3 separate regions of the Homo sapiens genome follow, and regions 1 and 3 are each linked to region 2. The links are contacts of gene promoters, found by promoter capture Hi-C in human tissues and cell types (Jung and others, 2019). All regions are on one chromosome and are shown on one strand. The core of a region is centred on a gene start or on the middle of the fragment in contact, and the rest is flanking DNA. Distances in the headings are between cores, read along the strand shown.

Region 1 (3,999 bases), core at 926-3,425, 82 kb before region 2:
AAGCTGAGGCAGGAGAATCGCTTGAGCCTGGGAGGCAGGATTGTGGTGAGCCAAGATCGCGCCACTGTACTCTAACCTGGGCCACAGAGCAAGACTCTGTCTCAAAAAAAACAAAAACAACAACAACAACAACAAAACAAAACTATACTGTACTTCCCAATCCTTGAACACTGTGTGTTTATTCGCTTATTAGGTCTTCTTCTAGCTCTTTCATTGGCGTTTTGTAGTTTCCAGCATACAGATCCTGCACATCTTATGTTAGATTTATATTGAAGTATTTCATTTTTCGAGCTCTTATCAATGGTATTTTTATGGGCTGAATTATTTCACCCCAATTCATATACTGAAGTCCTAACCCCCAAGACTTCAGATTGTGACTGTATTTGGAGACAGAACCTTAAAGAAGTAATTAAGTTCACATGGGTGGGCCCTAATCCAGTATGACTAGTGTCCCTTTAAGAAGAGAGAGAGGCTGGCGTGGTGGCTTACACCTGTAATCCCAGCACTTTGGGAGGCCAAGGTGGGCGGAGCTGTTGAGGTCAGGAGTTTGAGACCAGCCTGGCTAACATGGCGAAACCCCATCTTTACTAAAAATACAAAAATTAGCCAGGGGTGGTGGCACGAGTCTGTAATTCCAGCTACTCAGGAGGCTGAGGCAGGCGAATCGCTTGAACGAGGGAGGTGGAGGTTTCAGTGAGCCGAGATTGCACCACTGCATTCCAGCCTGGGCAACTGAGTGAGACTGTCTCAAAAAAAAAAAAAAAAAAAGAGAGGAGAGAGACACAAGAGTTTTCTCTGTCCACCATGTGAAGACATAGGGAGAAGGTAGGCACCTGTAGGGCCAGGAGAGAGGCTTTAAGAGAAACCAAATCAGCTGATACTTCGATCTTTGACTTCCACCCTCTAGAACTGTGAGAAAATAAATCTCTGTCGTTTTAGCCACTTGGTCTGTGGTACTTTTTAATGTCAGTCCTAGCAAACAAATGCAGGTGTTATTTTTTAAATTTGATTTTTAATTGTTCCTTGCTAATATATTGAAATGTAGTTGATTTTTGTATATTGATCTCAAATCTTGTGATCTTGATAAACTTGAATATTAGTTAGAAGCTTTATTTTTTTTTTTTTTGACAGCTGTCTCACTCTATTGCCCAGGCTGTGTGCTGCAGTGGTGCGATCCAGCTTACTGCAGCTTCAGACTCCTGGGCTCAAGTGATCCTCCTGCCTCAGCTTCCCAAGTAGCTGGGACCACAGGCACACACCACTATGTCTGGCCATTTTAAACATTTTTTGTAGAGATGGAGTCTCCCTGTGTTGCTCAGGCTGGTCTCGAACTTCTGGCCTCAGGCAGTTCTCCTGTCTTGGCCTCCCAAAGTGCTGGGATTACACGTGTGAGGCACCATGCTTGGCCGTGGAGCTGTTTTTTTCCAAATATATACATATATATATTCCTTAGGATTTTATGCACAGATGATTATATCATTTGTGAGTGGGAATAATTTTATTTTTTCCTTTCAATATTAAGACTTTTGTTTATTTTTCTTGCCTTATCACACTTGCTAGGGCTTCTAGTACTATATTAAATGAAAGTTAAGAAACAATGGCTGAAAACTGCTCAAATTTTGTGAAAGCCATATATTTTCAGATCAAAGAAGCACAAACAAAAGTGGTAAGACTGGGCATCCTTGCCTACTTCCTGATTTTAGGGCAAAAACATTCAGTTTAGGGTTAGCTGTTAGGTTTTCATAGATACCCTTTATCATGTTGTAGAGGTTTTCTTCTCATCCTAGCTGGCTGAGAATTTTTATAGCAGATGTTAGGTTTGTCAAATGCTTTTTCTGCATCTTTTGAGGTGACCGTATATTTTCTCTCTTTCAGTTTGTTACGGTGGTGGATTTTATATTAGAGTTCCATCCCAATTAGAAAAGAAGATCAGAAACAGTCCTCATTCACATAAATATTTACTCAGTGTTTTGCCCTAGGGCTATGTTAATTTTCCTGGTCTGTATCATAATATAGTTTGAAGGTCTCTGTACTATCCATATGTCATGCAGACACTGCAGTGATCCTTTATGTTACTGACGTCATGCAGGCGGGCAGGATGAGCACAACATGGCTAGCACACTGGAGGCCTTGGTGAGACACATGCAATCCAGATGGTAGGAGATAAACTCTGGGAGGGTTCAGGGACCTGCCATTTTGGTCAAGTTTTACGGGGTCTGTTGGCCAAGGGCATGCCAGGATAGCTCCTCCAAAGTTAGAGACTAATTGCTGTATTTTGTATCCCCTGCCACAAAGAAGGAAGCACAGCACTTGGTGGCCTCTGGATTCTGGAAACAACACATTTCTCACCCAGGAATACTGCTTCAGCTAATACATCAGGTGACACGAAGGCTGTCGGCTTTGGGGGAGGGGCAAGTGCTCCTGTATGTTTATCTTAATTATTGTCGTTAAGGAATAAATATTAACATAACACTTTTTTTGGGGGGGGGGCTTGAGGAAGAGACACCTTTTTCTAATTTGTACAGACATCATATGTACTATGCTTGACATGAAACCTATTTAATTTCCATGGAGAGGAAGACAAAGGTGGTTTCAGCCTCTGCGAGAAAGTTCCAAGCTCAATGCCCCCATGTTTGTGAAGCAGTATGGAGGCAACAAAGAGCACAGGCTTGGCAGGATGCAGTGGCTCACGCCTCTACTCTCAGCACTTTGGGAGGCCAAGGTGGGTGGATCACCTGAGGTTAGGAGTTTGAAACCAGCCTGGCCAAGATAGTAAAACCCCGTCTCTACTAAAAATACAAAAATTAGTCGGGCATGGTGGCACATGTCTATAATCGCTTGAACCTGGGAGGCAGAGGTTGCAGTGAGCCGAGATCGCGCCACTGCACTCCAGCTTGGAAGACAGAGTGAGACCCTGTATCAGAAAAAAACAAAACAAAACAAAACAAAGCAAAGCACAGGTTCAAAATTTAATTTAAAACTATCACTTACTAAAATCTGCATGTGAGGAGAAGAATTGGGGGAGTACACTCAATATAGTGACCCAACCCCTGAGACAACTTAGAACTTTAAGTTACAAATGTTCTTTTAATTACAGCTTTATTAGAAACACAGCTATATGAAATATAGATACCTCTGATGGCTTAGGTTACTTATTAGGTTACTAATACGAGCTTCAAAAAGTGTTTCAGGGCTGGGCGCAGTGGCTCATGTCTGTAATCCCAAACTTTGGGAGGTCAAGGAAGGAGGATTGCTTGAGGCCAGGAATTCAAGATCAGCTTGGGCAGCATAGCGAGACTGCATCTCTACAAAAAATTAAAAAATTAGCTGGGCGTGATGGCACGTGCCTGTGGTCCCAGCTACTCAGGAGGCTGAGCAGGAGGGTTGTTTGAGCCCAAGGGTTCAAGGTTATAGTAAGTTATTGTCGTGCCACTACACTCCGGCCTGGGAGACAGAGTGAGAATGTGTCTTAAAAAAAAAAAAAAAAAAACAGAGGCCAGGCAGGGTGGCTCAGGCCTGTAATCCCAGCACTTTGGGAGGCCGAGGTGAGCAGATCATGAGGTCAAAGCTCGAGACCATCCTGGCCAACACGGTGAAACCCCGTCTCTACTAAAAATACAAAAATTAGCTGGGCGTGGTGGCACGTGCCTATAGTCCCAGCTACTCGGGAGGCTGAGCAGGAGAATTGCTTGAACCTGGGAGGCAGAGGTTGTGGTGAGCTGAGATCGCACCACTGCACTCCAGCCTGGTGATAGAGCGAGACTCTGTCTCAAAACAAAAACAAAAAAACAAAACAGAACAAACCCCCCCCCAAAAAAAATGAAAACAGTGTTTCAGTGGCTGAAGGCCCTTATGACATGAGTGATAAGTGGCAAATTTTCAGCCACTATTTCTTCCAGTATTTTTCTTCTTTTCTTTCTTTTTCTTTTCCTTTTTTTGAGATAGGGTCTCATTCTATTGCCCAGGCTGGAGTACAACAGTGCAATCTCAGCTCACTGC
Region 2 (4,305 bases), core at 1,711-4,210:
TTTTGGGATGAGAAGACCCGTGCAGAGGACTGACTGAGGAACCAGATACAACTGTAGTGATGACAGACAACACGGGGAAGAGTGGGGAGGAAGGATGAGGCAGCTCCCTCTGGGACAGGGAGGAAAGTCAGCTGAACAACAAAGCGAGTGGGGGCTCCTAGTCTATGTCCTGAGACAGAGAAGTCTCCACACTTGGGGATTAGCAGACCGAGCCTGAAGAAAGCCCCTGTTCACATTGCGGAAGCCCTCTGCATCCCAGCAATGTGGCCCTCACAATGTGGGGAGTCAGACTGGACACCCCAAGCCCACTCAACCCCACTATGCGCAGACACCACTGCTGTGGCCCATGCTCTGGGGGAAGCCTTATCCCCACACTTCTTGAACCCCACGCAGTCTCCAAGGGCACTGCCTCCTTCACGTCTGCTTCCCCTTCATCAGACCTGCCTCTGGGTAGGCACAGAGGGAAAGGTTGCAGAGAAATGGAACCTTAACTCCCAGAGGCCCCCATCAGCACTCCTCACCCACTCTTACAAAGAGCTCTCGCCACACAGCAGGTGGTGGGGCCAAAGAGGGGGCCATGTTAAGAAACTAACCTTCTCAAGTTGAAAAAAAAAAAAGCCAGAACCAACAGAAGAATAGGCAGGAGGTGGAATTGTAAGCATAGCACAGGAAAACACAAGTTAATGGGAAGAAAAATAGGAAGGAAATACACTAAAATGTTGACAGTAGTTGTATTACAGAGGAGGGACTAAATTTTTTATTTTCCAATTTTTCTAGAATATAGCTATATCCCTTGTAAAAGTTTTGGAAATTAATTCATCCACAAGACCCTTTCTCTTCCGTAAGAGATCAGCTCCAGAGCCCCCCAGCGTTCCCTCCCGACAGCCAGGAAAGGACCGGCGTGCAGAAACGGCTTCAGTTTGCACATGAAGCGCGGTGTGTGTCTGTTACACGGTGAGGTTGAGGCGTCCTGCGGAGTGTGAATGTGGGCTCCTGTGTCAGGCCCGGTCTGCATTAAGCCCCCCATTCAGAATCCCTTCGGGCTGCTGCAACAGCTCAGACTTCTGGGAAGCCAAGTGCCCACCCTGTCCCAGCTGTCAGCAGAGCTGGCACCTCCCTAATCCTAACCACTGTGACTCCCCATAGGATACCTAAATGCCTCCCTCCATGGTCACAGCTGAAGGTGCAAAAAGCCAGGGGGTGCAGGGGCTTTGGGGGCAGGTCAATAAACTTTTAAAGTTCGCTTTCAAATCCTGGAGTCAACCCCCTACTGAGACTCCCAGACCCCTGCAAAGGAGTCAGAGGAGACCGGCGCGGGTGCTGGGTTCCCAGGGACTCTCTGCCTTCCAAAGGACCTACCAGAAAAACACCCGAGGGAAAGGCAGGGGCCCTGCCCAGTTCCCAGGCCAATCAGTCCAGCCAGGCCGACTGCCCACCTCATCTCTTCGCCACCGTCCAGCCCCCAGCCGCTTCTCTGGCTCTGCACACCCCCATCCGCCAACTCTGAGGGGCGTGGGAAAGGAAAAAGGGGGCTGGGTTTCGTGCCTTTCCTGACAGAGAGCTGCGGAATTGGACAAGGAGAGTCACTGGGACTGCCCAGGAAGGAGGGGCTGGACGTTCCTAGACGGCCGGTGGCTGTGGGTCATGGCTGGGAGCTCTGCCTCTTCTCTCAGAGCCATAGACAGCCCGGCTGGGGTGGCGTTCACCGCCGCACCCGCGAGCGGCCGTCAGAAATCTACCGGGGCAGCCCGGAGTGGAGGCAGAAGCCCCGCCCCAGCCCGCCCCACAGCCTCAGGAGGCAGCACAGGCACTCCGGACGGGGTGGGCCGGGGAGCTCGCCGGGACCGTCCAGAGTTAGGGCTCCTTCCGCCCCTGGCTCCAGCAGCTCCAGCAAGCTGAGCTGAGGCGGCGCGCAGCCGTCCAACCCGAGCGCACCGGGTCCGGTCCGAGCGCTTACCTCTGCGCCGCGGTGCTGGCGTCCAGGATGCCCGCGCCCTGCATCCAGGAGCGCACTGAGCCCAGGCCGGCGGGCAGCAGCGGCTCCTCCTTCAGGTTCAGCCCGCTGCGGGGCAGAGCGTCCTGCGCAGGGAACATGAGGGCGCGCGGTGAGTGAGCGCCCCCGCCGCCCCGGATCCGGTCCCGCTGAGGCTGCGGGCGTCTAGCTCAGCCCGACCCGACGGCACCAGGCGCCTCCAGCAGCGCAGCGCCGAGTCCGGGTGGCTCAGTGCGCGCTCGCCTCTTGGGCGCTCCCTCGGAGAAAGCGGGTCCGCGGGCGCCGGCGCTGTCCCCTCCCCTCCTGGGGCGCTGGGCGGGGAGATGGAGGGATTCCCCCGCGGCCTGAGCGCTGGCGGGCGGACTGCGAGCGGGGCGGGGAGGGCGGGGAGCGGAGCCCGCACCCGGTCCGCGCGGAGGCGCCCCAGAGGCGCGCTCTGGCGGCTGCCCGGGGCCGCGGTCGTCGGAGGGGGGGCCCGAGCGCCCCGGGAGCTGCCTCGGGCAAGGCGGGGGCGCGGGGCCGCCCGCCCTTTCCCCCTCGCCGCCCCCACCTCCCGCCCGCCCGCCCGCCCGCGGCGCCAGCGCGGGGCGCTGATTACCATCCGGGAGGCGGAGGCTGCGGGCGCGGAGCTCGGCGGCGGCGGCGACAGTGGCGGCAGCGGCGGCAGGAGCAGCAGCAGCCGCGCGTCCCGGGGAAAGGCTGGGGCCGCGCCGGGCCAGCAGACGCCGCCGCCGCCAGCGCCAGCGCCCCGCGTGCCCCGGCGTCCCGGCCCTGCCGTAGCCCCGGGCGGCAGCACCTGGAGCAGCAGCAGCAGCAGCCCGGCCGACTCCCCCCGGGGCCCGGTTCCCGCGCCGCCCCGCCGCGGCCGCCGCCGCCCGCCGCTCCCCGGGGCCTGGCCTCGGGCCCGGGCCATCCCGCCGCCGCCGCCGCCGCCGCCGCCGCTCCCGGGGGAGCGGTAGCCGAAGGGAGGGAGCGCAGGCGGGAGGAGGGATGTCGGGAGCGGGCGGGCCCAGGGGACGGGGGCCCGGGGGAGGCGGGGGCGGGGCGGCGCGGCCGGCCGAGGGGCGGCCGGGGACGTGACATCATCGGGGGAGGAGCGGCCGGGCCCGGGCCGCGGCGGCGGGGCGGACCCTGGCGAGTCGGTCGCCTGGGCTGGGGGCTGCGGCCTGGTCGAGGCCGCGGGAGGGAACGGAAGAGCCCGGCGGGGGCCACGGAAACCCGCGCAGGGAGGATCCGGGGCCGCGCGGCGAGGGAGCCCGGCCCGAGCGGGAGGTGCGCGCCCCGCTGCGCTCGGGAACCTCCGCGGCCTCCCCGTCGCCGCCGGACGAAGCCCCGGCGTCTTCGCGGCCTCATCTCCCTCCCCCGGCACCCGCCGTACTCTCCGCGCCCGACGCCTTGTGCCTGGACTTGCTGCTCATTTTGACGCCTCCGAGCTTTCGCTCTTGACGTCTTTCTCCCGCGTGACTGTACTCCCGCATTTCCCCGGCGACCCTGACCTCACTTTCACCCCAGCTAAGGACTGAAACGTCCCTGCCGTAGGCTGCGGCCCCAGACAAGCTGGGCGAGGTCCCTGCATCCAACCATCCCGATTCCTGATGCTGGGTTACCTAAGCCTAAAGCATTTTCAGTTTCCATCTGTGCCTTTCAGGAACCTCCTGATTTCTGATTGCGAGTTGGACAGGTAGGCTCAGAGCCCAGCTCACCTCCTGTTTCTCCCCAGCCGCGTCCCGTCTCAGATCCCATTCCTTTTTTTTTATTAGTTCCTGGCACAGAAGTCGTCTGGCCCTTGACCGTGGGGCAGAGACATTTCTGCCCCTCTCCCCACGTTGTCCTGGCCAGGCTTCGAGCAAGCCCAGACTGAGTCCAGCACTTTCCTGCAGAACAGCATGGGGGCCACCTGCCCTGCCTGCCATGTTCACGCTCAGACACCCCTGCAATAACACCTTCCTGCTCCAACTCACTCCCATCCTCTTCTGGGGGGCCTCCAAGTGTGAGTTAGCGTTCTGTCACACATTGGCCCAGATGAGGCGTCCTGGGGGCACTGCTGGTTCTCCTGCCATCACAGAGGCCCTCTCACCTCCTTTCCTGGTCTCTTTACCACCCCTTCTCTCTATGCCTCTCCCCATCACCCACAGGGGGCTGCCATTCCCACCAGGACTCCTTCAGGTCTCAGCTTTTACCCTAGGTGGGATTATCAAACATGGGTTTCTCCTTAAGACAATTCTTAAGCCAGTCTCTTTCTCCATCTCCTGATCTGCCTCTCTAAATCTTGCTTCTCACAGTGTGGTCCCCGGACCAGCAGCATTGACATC
Region 3 (3,832 bases), core at 1,057-3,556, 110 kb before region 2:
ATCAAAGGCAACAGTTAAAGTCTGAAATTCTTGAATGAACTTAGAGGGATCCTGACTAAATGAACCCAACTTGGATTGAATTTGCAAAAGATCAGACATGATCAGAAAAGGGACATGAACTTGGCTTGTTCCCAAATCTTCATTAGCCACCTTAGGGAGAGGCAAAATATTTTGGGGATTTTTCTGAGGACTCTGTACTAGTAGCATATGTGACTCCCCTGAGAGTATGTGAAGGGGAGAAAGTATTTGGGTATGTGGGTGGGAGATTGACTAGGGAATGGAGCAGATGGAGAGGGTGTAGGTGAAGAGTGAGCAGGTTGAGGAGGATGTAATAGGCAAAAGGAAGGATCATCTAAGACATCAGAACCGGGAAGGGAGGACGTTCCTTGGAAGCATACATGACAATTTGTATGTAATTTTGGGTTTGGATTTGGGGATAAAGCAAAAAAGACCTGAACATATGGGACTTCTGAATCCTTTCCAAGGTTCCGGCAAAAAATCAGTTAAGTTGTAAAGTAGCATTGCAATCCCAAGTTTCATTAATTGGCCAAATTGATTGATTAGGGAGCTTGTATTGAACCCAAGCAATATTAGAAAAAAGGATATGCTTTTTAAACTCTTATTTATTTTTTATTTGTATTTTTTGAGACAGAGTCTTGCTGTGTCGCCCAGGCTGGAGTGCTGTGGCGCCATCTTGGCCCACTGCAACCTCCGCCCCCGGGGTACAAGTGATTCTCCTGCCTCAGCCTCCCTAGTAGCTGGGATTATATGTGCCCGCCACATATAATTAGCCCCCTGGCTGATTTTTTTTTTTTTTTTGTATTTTTAGTAGAGACAGGGTTTCGCCATGTTGGCCAGGCTGATCTCGAACTCCTGACCTCAGGTGATCCACTCGCCTCGGCCTCCCAAAGTGCTAGGATTACAGGTGTGAGTCACTGTGCCCGGCCAAGTTTTGCATTTTTAGTAGACTCCCGGTCTTTAACTCCGGACCTCAGGTGATCTGCCTGCCTTGGCCTCCCAAAGTGCTGGGGTTACAGGCATAAGCCATTGTGCTCAGCCTTATATGCTTATTTTTAAGAGTTTGTGGGTCAAAATGAGACCAATGGGACCATTTTTAAGGAGGCAATCCAAGGGCGAGTTGGATGGAACTGAATTAATTGAACCGAAGTTGGGTTTAGACAAGGAACTACAAGATCCCTGAGGCATCCCTGTGTAGAATTGAGATCCACCGCTTCCAGGACAAGGCTTATGGAGTGTTAAAATGAAAGTGCCCTGCCACTCTGACAGGCAATAGCTCTTTTGTCTTGGCCTTGGGGTAATACCGGGGGATGGCGCTTGGCCAGAAACTGTCAGTTGCCAACGAGAACTCAAGCTGGTTCACTGGCAGTCCGAAAACAGAAAAGAGCCCTGGCCAGTCCCTCACCCCTAAGGGCAAGGACAGCCAGGTATCCCTTCTCTAGGGCTTCAGGATCCCACAGAAGAGCTGCCTCCACCGGGACCGGCAGTTCCCCAAAGAGTAAAGAACCAGACCGTGGAAGGAAGCAGAGAGAAAAAGGAAGAGGGAAATCCCAGTGAAGTCCCCGTATGGGCCACCAAGATGCCAGGCGAGGTGTCAGAGCTCCGGAACCGGGAAGTGGTTGGCTCCCGGGTGGTAAAAGAACTTATCAACAACCGTGTAGGTCTGAAAAGGAAAGTTTTATTAGACGGAAAGGACGAGGCAGCAGAGCGCAGTAGGCGCTTCAGCAAGAGAGGACTGAGCTCCCTGCGGGGAACTGCAGGGTAATTTGGACCACATTAGTCACTTAGGTCATGGTAAATGGTTACATTTGTCGATATTTTGGTGCCTTGATGTCAGCAAAGTTTGCACAATGGGTCTTAACGTGCACTCATTCCGGAAACGTACAGAAATTCTAGTTACTTATAAATTCTTGGGACGGAAGCTTGGTACCAGATGTGGCTTTAGACAATAGGGAAGTGTCATTCTGAATTGCTCAGATAAGGGGCTTTGCCTCCTGTTGGTCGACTTGATGGCCACCAGGTGATCTCTGGTCTCTTCAGTGTGGCTTTGCAGACTATAAAGGCGCAGCGCGCCAACGAGGCGGGTTGGCCCCAGACGGCGGAGAGGAAGGGCAGAGTCGGCGGTCCTGAGACTTGGGGCGGCCCCTTGGAGGTCAGCCCCGCTCGCTCCTCCCGGCCCTCTCCTCCTCTCCGAGGTCCGAGGCGGGCAGCGGGCTGTGGGCGGGCAGGAGGCTGCGGAGGGGCGGGGGGCAGGAAGGGGCGGGGGGCTCGGCGCACTCGGCAGGAAGAGACCGACCCGCCACCCGCCGTAGCCCGCGCGCCCCTGGCACTCAATCCCCGCCATGTGGGGGCTCCTGCTCGCCCTGGCCGCCTTCGCGCCGGCCGTCGGCCCGGCTCTGGGGGCGCCCAGGAACTCGGTGCTGGGCCTCGCGCAGCCCGGGACCACCAAGGTCCCAGGCTCGACCCCGGCCCTGCATAGCAGCCCGGCACAGCCGCCGGCGGAGACAGCTAACGGTGAGTTCCCCGACCGACGGTCCGCTCCCCCGCAAGCCGACTGCCCGGCTCTCCTGCCCCGTGGGGCGATCCCTCCCTAACACGCGGGCACACGCACACCCACGCACACTCACAGTCATGCACACTCACCCCGCACGCACACTCGCACTCACGCGCACACACGCGCGCGCACTCACACACATTCACACACGCGCACACTTGCACTCACACGCGCGCGCATTCACACGCATGCACACACACGCACACTCACACGCGCGTGCGCGCACACACAGTGCACGCGCGCGCACACTCACACTCACAGTGCACACACACATATACACACTCACACTCCCTCAACTCCCTGCTGGGAGCAATGGCTGCTGACTCGGCAGCCCCAGTTCCCTGCCAGACCTAGTCAGCAGTCCCAGGACAGGCGCCAGTGGGATGCTGCCTCTTCCAAGCCCCAAACCTTCCCTTTTCACCAAAGACAAAACAGGCCAGAACTGGCAGGAGGGGAGACAGAGGGGCAGAAGCTCTCAAGGTGCAGAGCAAGACTGCGTAGGAGAGAGTTTGAAGGCGAGGGCTGGAGAGAAAGAACAAAAGGAAAGAAGGGAGAGCCCCTCGCTGAGGCTGCCGGGAGGATGGGGCAGAGCGGGAGAGGAAGGCAGCCCGACCTCCCAGCTTTCCAGATGTGGAATAGGAGAGGAGGAGCGCAAGCGGAGGGCACTCAGGGGCTTCTAGAGGAGGCAAGTGGAGGAGGGTCTTGAAGGGTGATGTCCCCGAGTCAGGGGAGTCTGGAGAGAGAGAGAGAGAGAGGGCTGCCAAGAAGGAAGCGGCGGGCAAAGGCACAGGGGCACCAGATGCGGAAATGGGCAGCCTGTTCTGGAGGCAGCTGTGGAGCTTCGATGGGTACCCCCAGCACCTGCCTGGGCAGAGCCTTGTGCTGAAGGGCCGGCGGGCAGGCCCAGCCCTGAAAGCCTCGACACCCAGGCAGACATGGATTCCAGGACAGGCCATCTGAGCCCAGAGAGCAGACACAACAATGGAAGCGGCACAGGGGTTTTGGGGCATGATGCTGAGTCTGGAGCTAAGAAAGCCTCCTTGGAAAGGCATCTGGGCTGAGATGCAAAGGAAGAATGGGAATTAGGTGAAAAAATCAGAGGCGAGGGGTAGCATTACAGGGGAGGGGATAGCTAGTGCAGAGGCCCGGAGGTAAAGTGCCAGACTCAGCTCTTTGGAGCAACCGAACAGTTTCTAGAGGCTGGGTGCAGCTCTCCATTGGATTAGAGGTTCACAGGGGAGGCTGGCCAAGCATGTAGTT

What was found. Contacts are between HindIII fragments. The study calls those that stand out against the background at their distance.
Region 1: a contact is called between a fragment that was not itself captured here and the fragment with the promoter of EBF4 in region 2, in 2 of the 25 tissues and cell types used here (liver and lymphoblastoid cells).
Region 3: a contact is called between the fragment with the promoter of CPXM1 here and the fragment with the promoter of EBF4 in region 2, in 1 of the 25 tissues and cell types used here (H1 embryonic stem cells).

The regions. Positions count from the first base shown.
Region 1 is chr20:2,773,424-2,777,422 of GRCh38, reverse strand. No RefSeq gene overlaps it. Among named protein-coding and RNA genes, the nearest start is that of CPXM1, 25 kb to the left of the region's middle. RefSeq lists an enhancer at 3,758-3,907. The HindIII fragment of the contact is 6,441 bases long and covers 1-3,999 here.
Region 2 is chr20:2,691,435-2,695,739 of GRCh38, reverse strand. EBF4 (EBF family member 4) reads right to left here and starts at 2,960. Exons shown (of 17, transcript NM_001395167.1): 1 at 1,958-2,960. The coding sequence starts at 2,094. LOC105372507 (a long non-coding RNA gene) reads left to right here and starts at 3,120. Exons shown (of 3, transcript XR_937210.3): 1 at 3,120-3,674; 2 at 4,276-4,305. RefSeq lists an enhancer at 805-1,789. The HindIII fragment of the contact is 20,356 bases long and covers 1-4,305 here.
Region 3 is chr20:2,799,101-2,802,932 of GRCh38, reverse strand. CPXM1 (carboxypeptidase X, M14 family member 1) reads left to right here and starts at 2,306. Exons shown (of 14, transcript NM_019609.5): 1 at 2,306-2,532. The coding sequence starts at 2,361. RefSeq lists enhancers at 1,763-2,748, 2,749-3,736, 3,737-3,832. The HindIII fragment of the contact is 10,377 bases long and covers 1-3,832 here.